Linked DNA regions of Homo sapiens: all the other regions are linked to region 1. The links are contacts of gene promoters, found by promoter capture Hi-C in blood cells and fetal thymus (Javierre and others, 2016). All regions are on one chromosome and are shown on one strand. Each heading gives the region's core, a stretch centred on a gene start or on the middle of the fragment in contact. The rest is flanking DNA. Distances are from core to core; before and after follow the strand shown. Region 1 holds the start of SLC12A5-AS1 (SLC12A5 and MMP9 antisense RNA 1). Region 2 overlaps CDH22 (cadherin 22). Region 3 has its middle 44 kb from the start of CD40. Region 4 overlaps DNTTIP1 (deoxynucleotidyltransferase terminal interacting protein 1).

Region 1 (2,828 bases), core at 303-2,802:
TGGTGATCACAAGTAGTCATTTCTTTCGGGTATATACCTAGGAGAAAAACTGCTGGGTTGAAGGATATGTGTACGTTCACCTTCAGTAGATGTTTCCAAATAGTTTCCCAAAGTAGTTTTTGCCTAACTACACTCCCACCAGCAGTGTGTGAATTGCCAGGATTTCTCCTTGACTTCACTCTTATGGTCACGTGTCACATCCGATCCATCAGTGGGTCCTGATGGTTTCACTTTCAAAACCTAACTGGAATCAGACAACTGCCACCACTCTAGTCTGGCTGTCATCACCCCCCAGCTTGGGGTCTGCAGGAGCCTCCTAATTAGATTTCCAGCTTCTACTCTTGCCATTCTTTAGTTGAACCTTCGCCCAGCAGCCAGAATGATCCTGTTAAATTATAAATTGGATCACATCATTCCCCTGCTCAAAAAATCCAGGATCCTCCCCAAAGCCTTCAGAAGACCACATGATCTGCCCTTCTCTCCTCCCTCATCTCCAGTCACTCTCTTCTCCACTCACTCTCTTCCAGACACAATGGCCTTGCTGTTTCTTGGACAGTCGGGACTCCTTCTCACTCCAAGGCTCTGCATTTGCTGTTTCTTCTTCTAGAGAACTCTTCCCCCTAGATCTTTGCATAGCTGGCCCTTCTCATCAGTGAGGTCTCAGCTCAAATACCACATCTTCTAGGAGGCCTTCTCAGGCCACCCCTAAAGTAGTCCTCCCTCTTACCCATTATCCCATGGCCCTAGTTTTAAACATACATCCAATCTCAAATGATCTCATCTATGCATTTGCTCACTTATAATCTTTTTCTCCTTATTAGAATTTAAGCCACTTGAGGGCAAGAAGCCAGTGGATCTCATCCACCGACGTATCCCTCGCACCATTGACCGAAACACAGGAGCGCTATCGACATGTGCCGAATGAATGAATGAATGAATGAATGAGCCCCAGGTGTTTAGGAGACCCTAACAGAGGTGCCCCCGTTGTAGGGACGACTCTCACCTGCAGATGGCCTCCTCAGGCCCTTCGGGTGGCACTGGGGAGCCCAGGGCCTCCCAGCGAAGTGGCCAGATTCAGGAACCCTTCGCACAGCGGGCACTAGGACCCTGCGCGGCGCCGCGTCTCGCGGGGGGCGGGCGGGCGGAGGGGGTTGGGGGATCCGCTCTTTCTCCCTCCTAGAGCCTGGTTGCAGCCACTTGTGCGATCCCGGACCTTGCCGCGGCCGCCTGGCTCCTTTCCGCGCCATGAGCCGCAGGTTCACGGTCACCTCGCTGCCCCCCGCAGGGCCCGCCAGAAGCCCTGACCCAGAGTCCCGCCGGCATTCGGTCGCAGACCCCCGCCACCTCCCGGGGGAAGACGTCAAAGGTAGAGGCCGCAGGGGGCGGGGCCTGCCAGGGCCGGGCGGGACGAGGGGGAGGGGCCGGGGCGGACCGTCTGTTGAAGGGGGCAGGGCCAAGACCGGGGGCGGGGAGGGGTCCCAGCCCTAGGCCTGAGAGGGGAATGGAGCCAGGACTAGGAAACCAAGGGGCCGGGGCCGCGGAACGCAAAGTGTGGAGGGGGAGGGGCCAAACGCGAGGTGGGCGTGGCCACGAGGGAAAGGGGTGGGGCCAGGGAAGGGGTTTGGACGGAGGCGAAGGGGGCGGGTCTGGTGATGGAAAGGCCGGGGTCAAGGTGGAGAGTAGGCCGTAGGGCACTAAAGGGGCGGGGACATCTCGAGTAGGGAGCGGGACCAGAGTGAGGAGGTGGAACTAGGGAAAAAGGGGGCTGTGTGTTGAAGGGGGATGGTCAGGAGCCCCTAAAGGGGAGGCGGCGGGACTAGGTTGGTTTGGGGTCAGGAAAGGGCGGGACTAGTAGGGAATGAGTTGGGCCAGGAGGATGGGAGTGGGGCCTGGGAGGGGGGTGGGGTCGAGGGCGGGAGGAAAACTGAGTCAGGGTTGCCGAGGCAGGTGCCAGGTCAGCGGGTCCTCGGTGCCTGGCGGATCCTCCAATCCTCTAGCTCCCTGGAGGCTTAGCGGACAGCGACTGGGGATCCCGGGAAGGAGACGGGAGGCAGGGAAGTTAGTATGGATCCTGGGCAGCGAGATTCAGGGAGGATGCCGTAGGGTCGCTGATCCCGACTCTTGGGGACCCACTTAGCTCCTTGTCTGCTCGAGCTCCGTAAGGGTTGGGAGGAGCCAGCTCAGGCGGGGTTGGGGGCGTCTTCCTCGCGGGCCCTGTGCAGGGTCTTGTAATGGAAGTTACACGCAGGGCACAGAGTATAGGGGAGGGGAAAGATCCTTCTGGCCTTCGGTGGAGAAGTAGCATCCTGGGCGCGTGCACAGTCTCCCCTCAGGGGGCACTCATCAGGGGTCCTCTCCCTGGCTCTGAGGCCCTCGGGTCTGGAAGGAACAAGGCGAATCGGCTTGTAGTGGCCCCAGCGAGGGGAGGAGGAGGAGGAGGAGGAGGAGGAGGAGGAAGAGGAGGAGGAGGAAGAGGAGGAGGAAGAGGAGGAGGAGGAGAAGGAGGAGGAGAAGCCTCCCCAGACCGCCAGGGGTCGCTGCCGAGCCGCAGGTGAGCTCGCCCCGAAGCAAACCCAAGCGCCGAAACCCCTAGAGTAACCCTTAGGGGGTTATCTGGCGGACCTCCTCATTGTACAGATGACCAAATTGAGGCCTGGAATTCCGAATGGCCCCAGTCCCGGGAACCGAACGCCTCCTGGTTGTGGCCACTTGGATTTCTTGGGCTCCTTCCACTCTTCATCTTTCTCATAATCTCTTTTCTCATTTTCATGAATGACCTTACCAGCCTCCCAGATTTGAAAGTAAGAAATTCTGGAGCCATTCTCAAC
Region 2 (2,773 bases), core at 159-2,658, 160 kb after region 1:
GAGGAGGAGGCCTTCCACGGCTGCTGTGACCTCAGCGTGCTGCTGCCACCCTGTCCCCGGAGCTTACACCAGGTGGCACTCTGGATGGCAGCTCTGGTGCCCCCCCCTCTCCCCCAGCTAAACAAAAGCAACTGAGGCAGAATCTCGGGCCCCTTGGGTTGGAAAGCCTGGTGAACTTGGCAGAGTTGAGCCAAGGCTAGCTGTGTTTCCTGTGACCTGCTCAGGATACTACTGGACTAATGAATAGGCAGGGCTGTACTGGTTGTTAAAATATTGAAATACTTCCAAAAAAGGCTTAAATAGCTGTTGACACTAAGCCCCCCAAATCTCTCCCTGCTGCCTCAGCCTTTTCCCCAGGCAGCCTCCCAACTTTGACACAATCAAGCCACGAAGGAGTTAATGCCTGGTGTAGTAAAGTTTCCAGGGTCCTGCTCCAGGTTTTGGTCAGCGTCCTTTCTGATTGGCCATCTGAGCTGCACTGGTTGTTAAATCTGTTTATTATTTTTCATTATTTATTTTTAATTATTGATTGACTGAGACAAGGTCTCACTCTGTCTTCCAGGCTGGAGTGCAGTGGTGCGATCGTGGCTCAATGGAGCCTCAAACTCCTAGGCTCAAGTGATTCTCCTGCCTCAGCTTCCTGAGTAGCTGGGACTACAGGTGTGCGCCACCATGCCCAGCTAATTATTATTATTATTTTTAAAGAGATGGGTTTTCACTGTGTTGTCCAGGCTATTCTCAAACTCCTTGCCTCAAGGGATCCTCCTGCCTTGTGCTGGAGTTATAAACATGAGCCTTACATATTTTTAACAGGACTCCCAGGGGTACAGATGGGTCTGGCTTCAGAGGCCACTAAGGCTCCGCATTGGGTGTGAGTGTGTAAAGGCCTTGAGAAGGATCCCAGACCTGTTCCAAGGCCAGAAGGAACCCACATGATCTGGCCCCCTCGCTGACCACATCTCCTCCCAGTCCTGTCTCTTACTCACTCTAATCACACAGGTCTCCTCCATTCCTAATCCACCCCAGTCCTGCTCACCACAGGGCCTTTGCACTTGCTATTTCTTCCACTGGGGTGGTCGTTTTCTCTCATATCCTTTAGGTCCCTTCTCACTATGGATACCCTTGGAGAGTCCTTCCCAGGCCACCCTATTTAAGAAGATAGCTTCTCCTCTTACCCTGCTTTCTCTCTCTCTTTTTTTTTTTTTAGATGGAGTTTCGCTCTTGTTGCCCGGGCTGGAGGGCAATGGTGAGATCTCACCTCACTGCAACCTCCGCCTCCTGGGTTCAAGCAATTCTCCTGCCTCAGCCTCTGGAGTAGCTGGGATTACAGGCATGCGCCACCCTGCTGGACTAATTTTTGTATTTTTAGTAGAGACTGAGTTTCACCATGTTGGCCAGGCTGGTCTCGAACTTCTGACCTCAACTAATCCGCCCACTTCAGCCTCCCAAAGTGTTGAGATTACAGGGCTGAGCCACTGTGCCCTGCTTTATTTTTCACTGTTTCATTGAACACATTTTATCAAACACCTACGATATGCCAAGCACTGCTCCAGGCACCTAGGGTTGAACAAAGTCAAGTCCAGACCCTTGTGGAGATTGCATTATTCCTCCACCCCAGCCACTTATCATCCCCAACATACTTTTTTATTTGTGTCATTTCTGTCTCACCTCACTAGAATATAAACTAGGTTTTGTTGTGTTTGCTGTTGCATTTCCAGGACCCGGAGCAGACCCCGACACAGAGGCTTTGTGTCTCAATAAACACTCACTAAATAATTGCTGGATGTAGGAATTGACATTTCTAGGTATTAACACTATATCTTGGTGGCCCTTATCTTACTGGGGCTACCTAGCCACCCGAGGCAGTAGGTGTTACTCCCATTTTAGATGATGAAACTGAGGCTTAGAGAGGAACAGGCGCCCCAGCACTTTGGTAGGCCGAGGCGGGCAGATCACCTGAGGTCAGGAGTTCGAGACCAGCCTGGCCAACATGGCGAAACCTCGTCTCTACTAAAAATACAAAAATTAGCCTGGCGTGGTGGTGCGTGCCTGTAACCCCAGCTACTCTGAAGGCTGAGGCAAGAGAATCTCTTGACCCTGGGAGGCAGAGGTTGCAGTGAGCTGAGATCGCACCACTGCACTCCAGCCTGGGCAACAGAATGAGATGCTGTCTCAAACAAACAAACAAACAAAAAACAACAAAAAAACCCCACACGCATACACACACACACACACACACACACACACACACAAACAACAACAAACACAAAAAAACCAGAGAGGAACAGGAGCTTGCCAGGGTGGTATAGAGCACCCTTCGCTGAGCCTGGTCCCTTATTTCCAGTCTGGTGACTGCCCCCTTCCCTCAGTCTATTCCTTAAAGGTTCAAACATCAACATCATGAGAAACTTGTGAGAGCCAGAGGGGAGGAATCTCACAGTGGACTCAGGCAGGGCAGGGCAGTTTGCTTTCCAGGTGGTGTGCTGAGGCAGGAAGCACACTGGACTTGGGATGGGGTTGGGTTGAATCCTACCCACACCACTGACTCCCTATATGACCCTGGGCAGGACTCTTTCTCTCTTAGAGTCTCAGTTTCATCACCTGTAAAATGGGGAGAGGAGTCAGAAAACTACCTCACAGGATGGCTGTGAGGTTGCAGAAAGAAATGTGAGTGGGCCTGGCGTGGTGTCTCATGCCTATAATCTCAGCTCTTTGGGAGGCCGAGGTAGGAGGATTGTTTGAGCCCAGGAGCTCGATACCAGCCTGGGCAACA
Region 3 (2,766 bases), core at 43-2,542, 140 kb after region 1:
AGATTTCTCTTCCCTTTTGGCATTCCTTTGTGCTGAGCTCTGTGGTCTCAGAGGCAGATTCCCTGGCATTACAGAGGGGCAGTGACTGTGCTCCAAAGGCCTCCTTTCTTCCTTCCATGTGTGCATCCTGCATCACGTGTGCATCCACCATTCCCCCACCCGCCCTCCCACACATCAACAGATGTTTATGGAGCCCTCTCCTTGGCTATGCATTGCACTGTGTAAGGCCCTGAGGACAGGGTGGTAGACAGGACCAAGAAGAGGTGTCCATCCTTCCCAAGAACATTCACTCACTCATTCATTTACTCAACAGATGTTTACTGTGCTTCTGTTATGTGCCAGCCACCATGGCTAGTGGCTATACAATGATGATCAAGAAATATAAGGTTCCTCTACTCAGGGGCATCAGGAGGATGCCCCTCCAGCCTTCAGGATGGGCACTGATGGGTACTCCTGAGAATAAAGGTGATGGAGCCCTAAGGCTGGTGATGAGTGCTTACGGTGCCCCCAAAGTCATCACTGATGACTTTCATCAGTGATGGTATCCTTTCAGCAATATTGGTATCCTTTCAGCAATATTGGTATCCTTTCAACGATGATAGTATCCTTTCATCAATGATAGCATCCTTTCATCGATGATGGTATCCTTGACGTATTAGTGTTAAGTATTGATATGCTTCAAGCACATCAGTTACAGACACTGTCACTCCTAGGGCATCAAGGATGGGTGCTAGTGGGTAGAAACCTTTTGCTTCTGTGGGAGATCTTGGTTCATCCTCCACATTTGGCCTTTCTTCTTCCACTCAAAGCTCTTGCAGGCAGACAGACCTATGGTGGACTCTGTGGCCCAAGACATTATATGATGGTGGCCGTCCCACAGCCTCCCCCACTGAAAGGGCTGGCTTCCCACTGGAGGCCAATTTATTCTTTTGCCTGGGCTTCTCTCTGCAGCTAGAATGTCATTTTCCACAAAACCCTCTTTCTTGTAATTACTGAGAATTACTCATGAAGAGAGAGAGGAGAGAGAGAGTGTGTGTGGGTATTGATTGCCACCCTGAGAAGCTCAGGAATCATTTAGAGTAGATTAACCTAACTTTCTTTTGCCTTTTGGGAAGTTGGACTCTGACTTATTTGAGGAGATTAATCAGCTCATAAGAAATCTGGACAGCCTTCCTACCTCTTCTATCTCTTTTTGGATTAGCTGGGGCCATGTCATTTTCACCATGCCTTCGAAATATCCTTTTCCTCACTCTCTAGCACTCCGTCTACATTTTCACTATTATTGCCCAGTCCATTTAGTTCAGCAGGATTCTCTGTAGCTCCTCTTTTGGGGAATGGGTGGAGGCGTCCCTGGCTGCCATTAGATTACCCTGATAGCCTTGTTGCCTGGATCTTGGGTGGGCACAACTTCAGGGAGGGCTGGGCCACTACAGGCAAGTCTCCTGCATCCAAGCCCGGGGTCTCTGCAGCTGTCACGTAGGAAGAGTCCAACCATTCCATTCTAAAATGCAGTATTTTCCAGAGTCTTTTCTGCGAGGTTTGCACATTGATTCTGCAGATGCTAATCCTATCCATCCAGTCTTCCGGACTTCCAGGTGCTGCTCATCCATCCCCTCCTCTTCCCTTGCAGGAAGCTATCCCAGACTAAGCACTAGTCCTGCTTACTGAGGCAGAGAGGATGGGAAATGAGAGGAGAGAAAGGAAGCCTGAGAGGGGAAAGGGAGAAGAGAAAAGGTGGTGAGTGGCCCCGGGGAAGGAGTCAGCATTTGCCTGACTCTGCGACACATTTTGTGGAGTGCAAAAAGGGCAGGTTCCGGAGCCAGACAGACTTGGGGTTAAATCTCAGCTCTACTCCTTCCTAGCTTGGTGACCTTGGGCAAGTCACTTTACCTCTCTGAGATTTCATTGTTCACATGGGATGATAACAGTTCCTAGCTCACATTACCATTGCCAAATGAGATCTTGTATGTGACATGCTGAAAGCAAGGCCTGGCGCTTAGTGGGTGTGCCATTGACAGCAGGTGGATATCGCCAGGCCCCAAACATGGGGGACTCCCAATGAATCTTCTGTAAAGACTTGATGTATGATACGGAACTTCATCCTTGGGAGCCTCTACTCCTCTTCCTCATCCCCCTGTCTCCAGGTAGCTGCAGAAGGAGCAGCCAGGATACCCGGGTCTTTGGCAGGTGAGGCCCAGATTCTCAGCTCCTGGGAAGCTGAGAATATTGCAGGTCCTTGCTGCTGCTTCTCTCCTCTTCCAGGAAAAAGTTTGAAGTCAAATGGGTCCCGAGGTGGAATATTTTCCAAATGTCAGTGCAGTCTGTGGTACATTACAGCTAAATGTGATCATCTCAGTGCTGGGCTCTGAATGTCAGCGCACTGGCCGTGATGGAGTGACAAATAGCAGGTTGACAGGTGGGGCTGTGGCCCCCCCCCCTTCCCCTGGGAAATCAGCCTGGGGAACTGGGCCATCTCTGGGTTCAGCAGGTGAGGACCATGGGCCTCTGTGGGGACACGGAGTGGGCTTTGAGGGGTCCTGTGCGTGTGATGTGTGCATGCATGTGTGCACATGTGGCAATGTCTCTGTGCCTGTACACTTCCTCTTCGGTGTGCACAAAGGCTCAGACACCCTGGGAGGGAGTTCACTAAGCACAGCTGGAGATCTGTGTGTGGCTGTTGTATGTGTGTTCTTCATCTCCATCTCCATCATGTTCTCCGTGAGTCTACACTCATTAGTAGAACTGCTTGCATGGTGTACACACATT
Region 4 (3,025 bases), core at 247-2,746, 220 kb before region 1:
TGGCTAGCCATATGTAGAAAGCCGAAACTGGATCCCTTCCTTACACCTTATACAAAAATTAATTCAAGATGGATTAAAGACTTAAATGTTAGACCTAAAACCATAAAAACCCTAGAAGAAAACCTAGGCAATACCATTCAGGACATAGGCATGGGCAAGGACTTCATGACTAAAACACCAAAAGGAATGGCAACAAAAGCCAAAATTGACAAATGGGATCTAATTAAACTAAAGAGCTTCTGCACAGCAAAAGAAATGACCATCAGAGTGAACAGGCAACCTACAGAATGGGAGAAAATTTTTGCAATCTACTCATCTGACAAAGGGCTAATACCCAGAATCTACAATGAACTCTAACAAATTTACAAGAAAAAAACAAGCAACCCCATCAACAAGTGGCCAAAGGACATGAACAGACACTCCTCAAAAGAAGACATTTATGCAGCCAAAAGACACATGAAAAAATGCTCATCATCACTGGCCATCAGAGAAATGCAAATCAAAACCACAATGAGATACCATCTTACACCAGTTAGAATGGTGATCATTAAAAAGTCAGGAAACAACAGGTGCTGGAGAGGATGTGGAGAAATAGGAACACTTTTACACTGTTGGTGGGACCGTAAACTAGTTCAACCATTGTGGAAGTCAGTGTGGCGATTCCTCAGGGATCTAGAACTAGAAATACCATTTGACCCAGCCATCCCATTACTGGGTATATACCCAAAGGAATATAAATCATGCTGCTATAAAGACACATGCACACATATGTTTATTGTGGCACTATTCACAATAGCAAAGACTTGGAACCAACCCAAATGTCCAACAATGATAGACTGGATTAAGAAAATGTGGCACATATATACCATGGAATACTATGCAGCCATAAAAAGTGATGAGTTCATGTCCTTTTTAGGGACATGGATGAAGCTGGAAACCATCATTCTCAGCAAACTATCACAAGGACAAAAAACCAAACACCGCATGTTCTCACTCATGGGTGGGAATTGAACAATGAGAACACATGGACACAGGAAAGGGAACATCAGACACCGGGGCCTGTCGTGGGGTTGGGGGAGGGGGGAGGGATAGCATTAGGAGATATACCTAATGTTAAATGACGAGTTACTGGGTGCAGCACACCAACAAGGCACATGTATACATATGTAACAAACCTGCATGTTGTGCACATGTACCCTAAAACTTAAAGTATAATTTAAAAAAAAATGCCTTACCATGACCCACAGAGCCTACCCTCGACTGGCTTCTGCCTGCTTCTTTAACTTCATTTCATCTCACCTCTTTTTTATTGACTATACTCTGGCTGTTCTGAACTCCTTTCTGCTCCTCCAGCACAAGCTTAGGCCATTTCACTTGCTGTTCTTAGTACCTGGGGTACTCTACCCTTAACTCTATAAAGCCGGCTCCTTCTTTTCTTCAGATCTTAGTTTAAATATCAGAGAGGTCTTCCCCTCGCACTCCTACCTCTGCTAAAATCTTGAGCTTTACAAGAGTTGAGGCCTAATCTTGTTCACCACTGTATTCCCAGCCCTGGAATATGACTCTTAGTATGTGTACAGAGTTTGCTGAATTATTGAGTAAATGAAGGAACAAACAAATGATAAATGAACAAACAAGCTTCCTGCTCTAATAGAACTTAACAGCCTACTTAAGCAGACAGGTGTGAATTAGATTACCAACAAATGTGTGCATAATTACACATTGAGACTTGATCACCCTTCACTGGAAAGGGACAAAGTTTGGAGGAGAAGAGCATGAATCCAATTATGGATTAGCAGCTTTGAGCCATCCAAGCATAGACATGGGGCAGACTATTTGGTATATAAGTCTAGAGCTCAGAGGATAACCTTTTGTCTACAGTTGAATTATGGAATCGTGGTTTATAGATGTTAATTGAAGCTGTGAGAATAGGTGAGAGCAGATAGAATATGTAATGAGAGAGGATAGGGAAAAGAACCAGATTGAGAAGGAAAAGCCAGCAAAGAAGGCTAAGAAAGAACGGCCAGAGAAGTAGAAGGAACACAGGAAGTGTGGCCACAGGAGCCTGTAGAAAAGAGTGTTTCCAGAAGGGGGAGCCCTCAGCACTGTCAAATGCCACTGGCAGAGGTCGGGTGAACCCAATTCTCCACCTGCTGCACCATCTCCCCTCTGCCCATTCCATCCTTTTCTTTGTCAAATGAGCCAGGTGTTCCCACCTTTGAGCTTCTGCACTCCTCCCTGCTGCTGAAACACTTCTGCCCAGCTTTTTTTACAGCCTCCTTCACATCTCAACTCAGAGGCCACCTTCTGAGCAAGGCCTTCCCTGGCCATTCCCGCAAAGTAGCCCTTCCCCTCTGGTGGTTCTCTGTCACATCTGCCTGGGTTTTTTTCTTTTTTTCTCACAGCATCTATCATGATCCACAGTTACCTTGTTTGTTTCTGTGCTTATTATCCAGATCACCCACAAACTATAAGCTCCACAAGAGCTTGTCCTAGTTACTGCTGTGTCCACAGCACTTAGGTCCCAGGTACTCAGTATTTATTAAAAGAAAAACAGCAGGCCAGGCGCACTGGCTCACGCCTGTAATCCCAACACTTTGGGAGGCTGAGGCGGGCAGATCACGAGGTCAGAAGTGTGAGACTAGCCTAGCCAACGTGATAAAACCCCATCTCTACTAAAAATACCAAAAAAAAAAAAAAAAAAAATTAGCTGGGTGTGGTTGCACGCCTGTAATCCCAGCTACTCAGGAGGCAGAGGCAGGAGAATTGCTTGAACCTGGGAGGCGGAGATTGCAGACAGCCGAGATCGCACCACTGTACTCCAGTCTGGGCAACAGAGCAAGATTCCATGTCAAAAAAAAAAAGAAAAAAGAAAAACAGCAGCTTACTGAGGAGTATGTGTTATACTAATGTATTTAGTTTGAAAAAACATACAGTATGTATTTACATGGGAAAAGCAAGGAAGAATTTACATTGAAACATTAATAGTAGTTTATGTAATGAGATTCCAGGTTTTTCTTATTTT

Evidence for each region. The method cuts DNA at HindIII sites, captures the fragments that hold promoters and counts their contacts. A CHiCAGO score of 5 or more calls a contact.
Region 2: a fragment that was not itself captured here is called in contact with the fragment with the promoter of SLC12A5-AS1 in region 1 in 9 of 17 cell types (naive B cells, total B cells, naive CD4 T cells and 6 more); the score reaches 9.0 in naive B cells.
Region 3: a contact is called between a fragment that was not itself captured here and the fragment with the promoter of SLC12A5-AS1 in region 1, in 1 of 17 cell types (naive B cells). The highest score is 5.6, in naive B cells.
Region 4: a contact is called between a fragment that was not itself captured here and the fragment with the promoter of SLC12A5-AS1 in region 1, in 5 of 17 cell types (fetal thymus, total CD4 T cells, total CD8 T cells and 2 more). The highest score is 5.8, in fetal thymus.

Annotation. Positions count from the first base shown.
Region 1 is chr20:46,020,521-46,023,348 of GRCh38, forward strand. SLC12A5-AS1 (SLC12A5 and MMP9 antisense RNA 1) reads right to left here and starts at 1,553. Exons shown (of 3, transcript NR_147699.1): 1 at 1,004-1,553. It also overlaps a transcript of SLC12A5 not described here. RefSeq lists silencers at 1,064-1,223, 1,244-1,603. The HindIII fragment of the contact is 8,792 bases long and covers 1-2,828 here.
Region 2 is chr20:46,182,912-46,185,684 of GRCh38, forward strand. All of the region lies in intron 10 of CDH22 (cadherin 22), which reads right to left. Among named protein-coding and RNA genes, the nearest start is that of CD40, 66 kb to the left of the region's middle. The HindIII fragment of the contact is 9,259 bases long and covers 1-2,773 here.
Region 3 is chr20:46,161,243-46,164,008 of GRCh38, forward strand. No RefSeq gene overlaps it. Among named protein-coding and RNA genes, the nearest start is that of CD40, 44 kb to the left of the region's middle. The HindIII fragment of the contact is 4,970 bases long and covers 1-2,766 here.
Region 4 is chr20:45,797,267-45,800,291 of GRCh38, forward strand. All of the region lies in intron 4 of DNTTIP1 (deoxynucleotidyltransferase terminal interacting protein 1), which reads left to right. Among named protein-coding and RNA genes, the nearest start is that of DNTTIP1, 6.8 kb to the left of the region's middle. The HindIII fragment of the contact is 279 bases long and covers 1,358-1,636 here.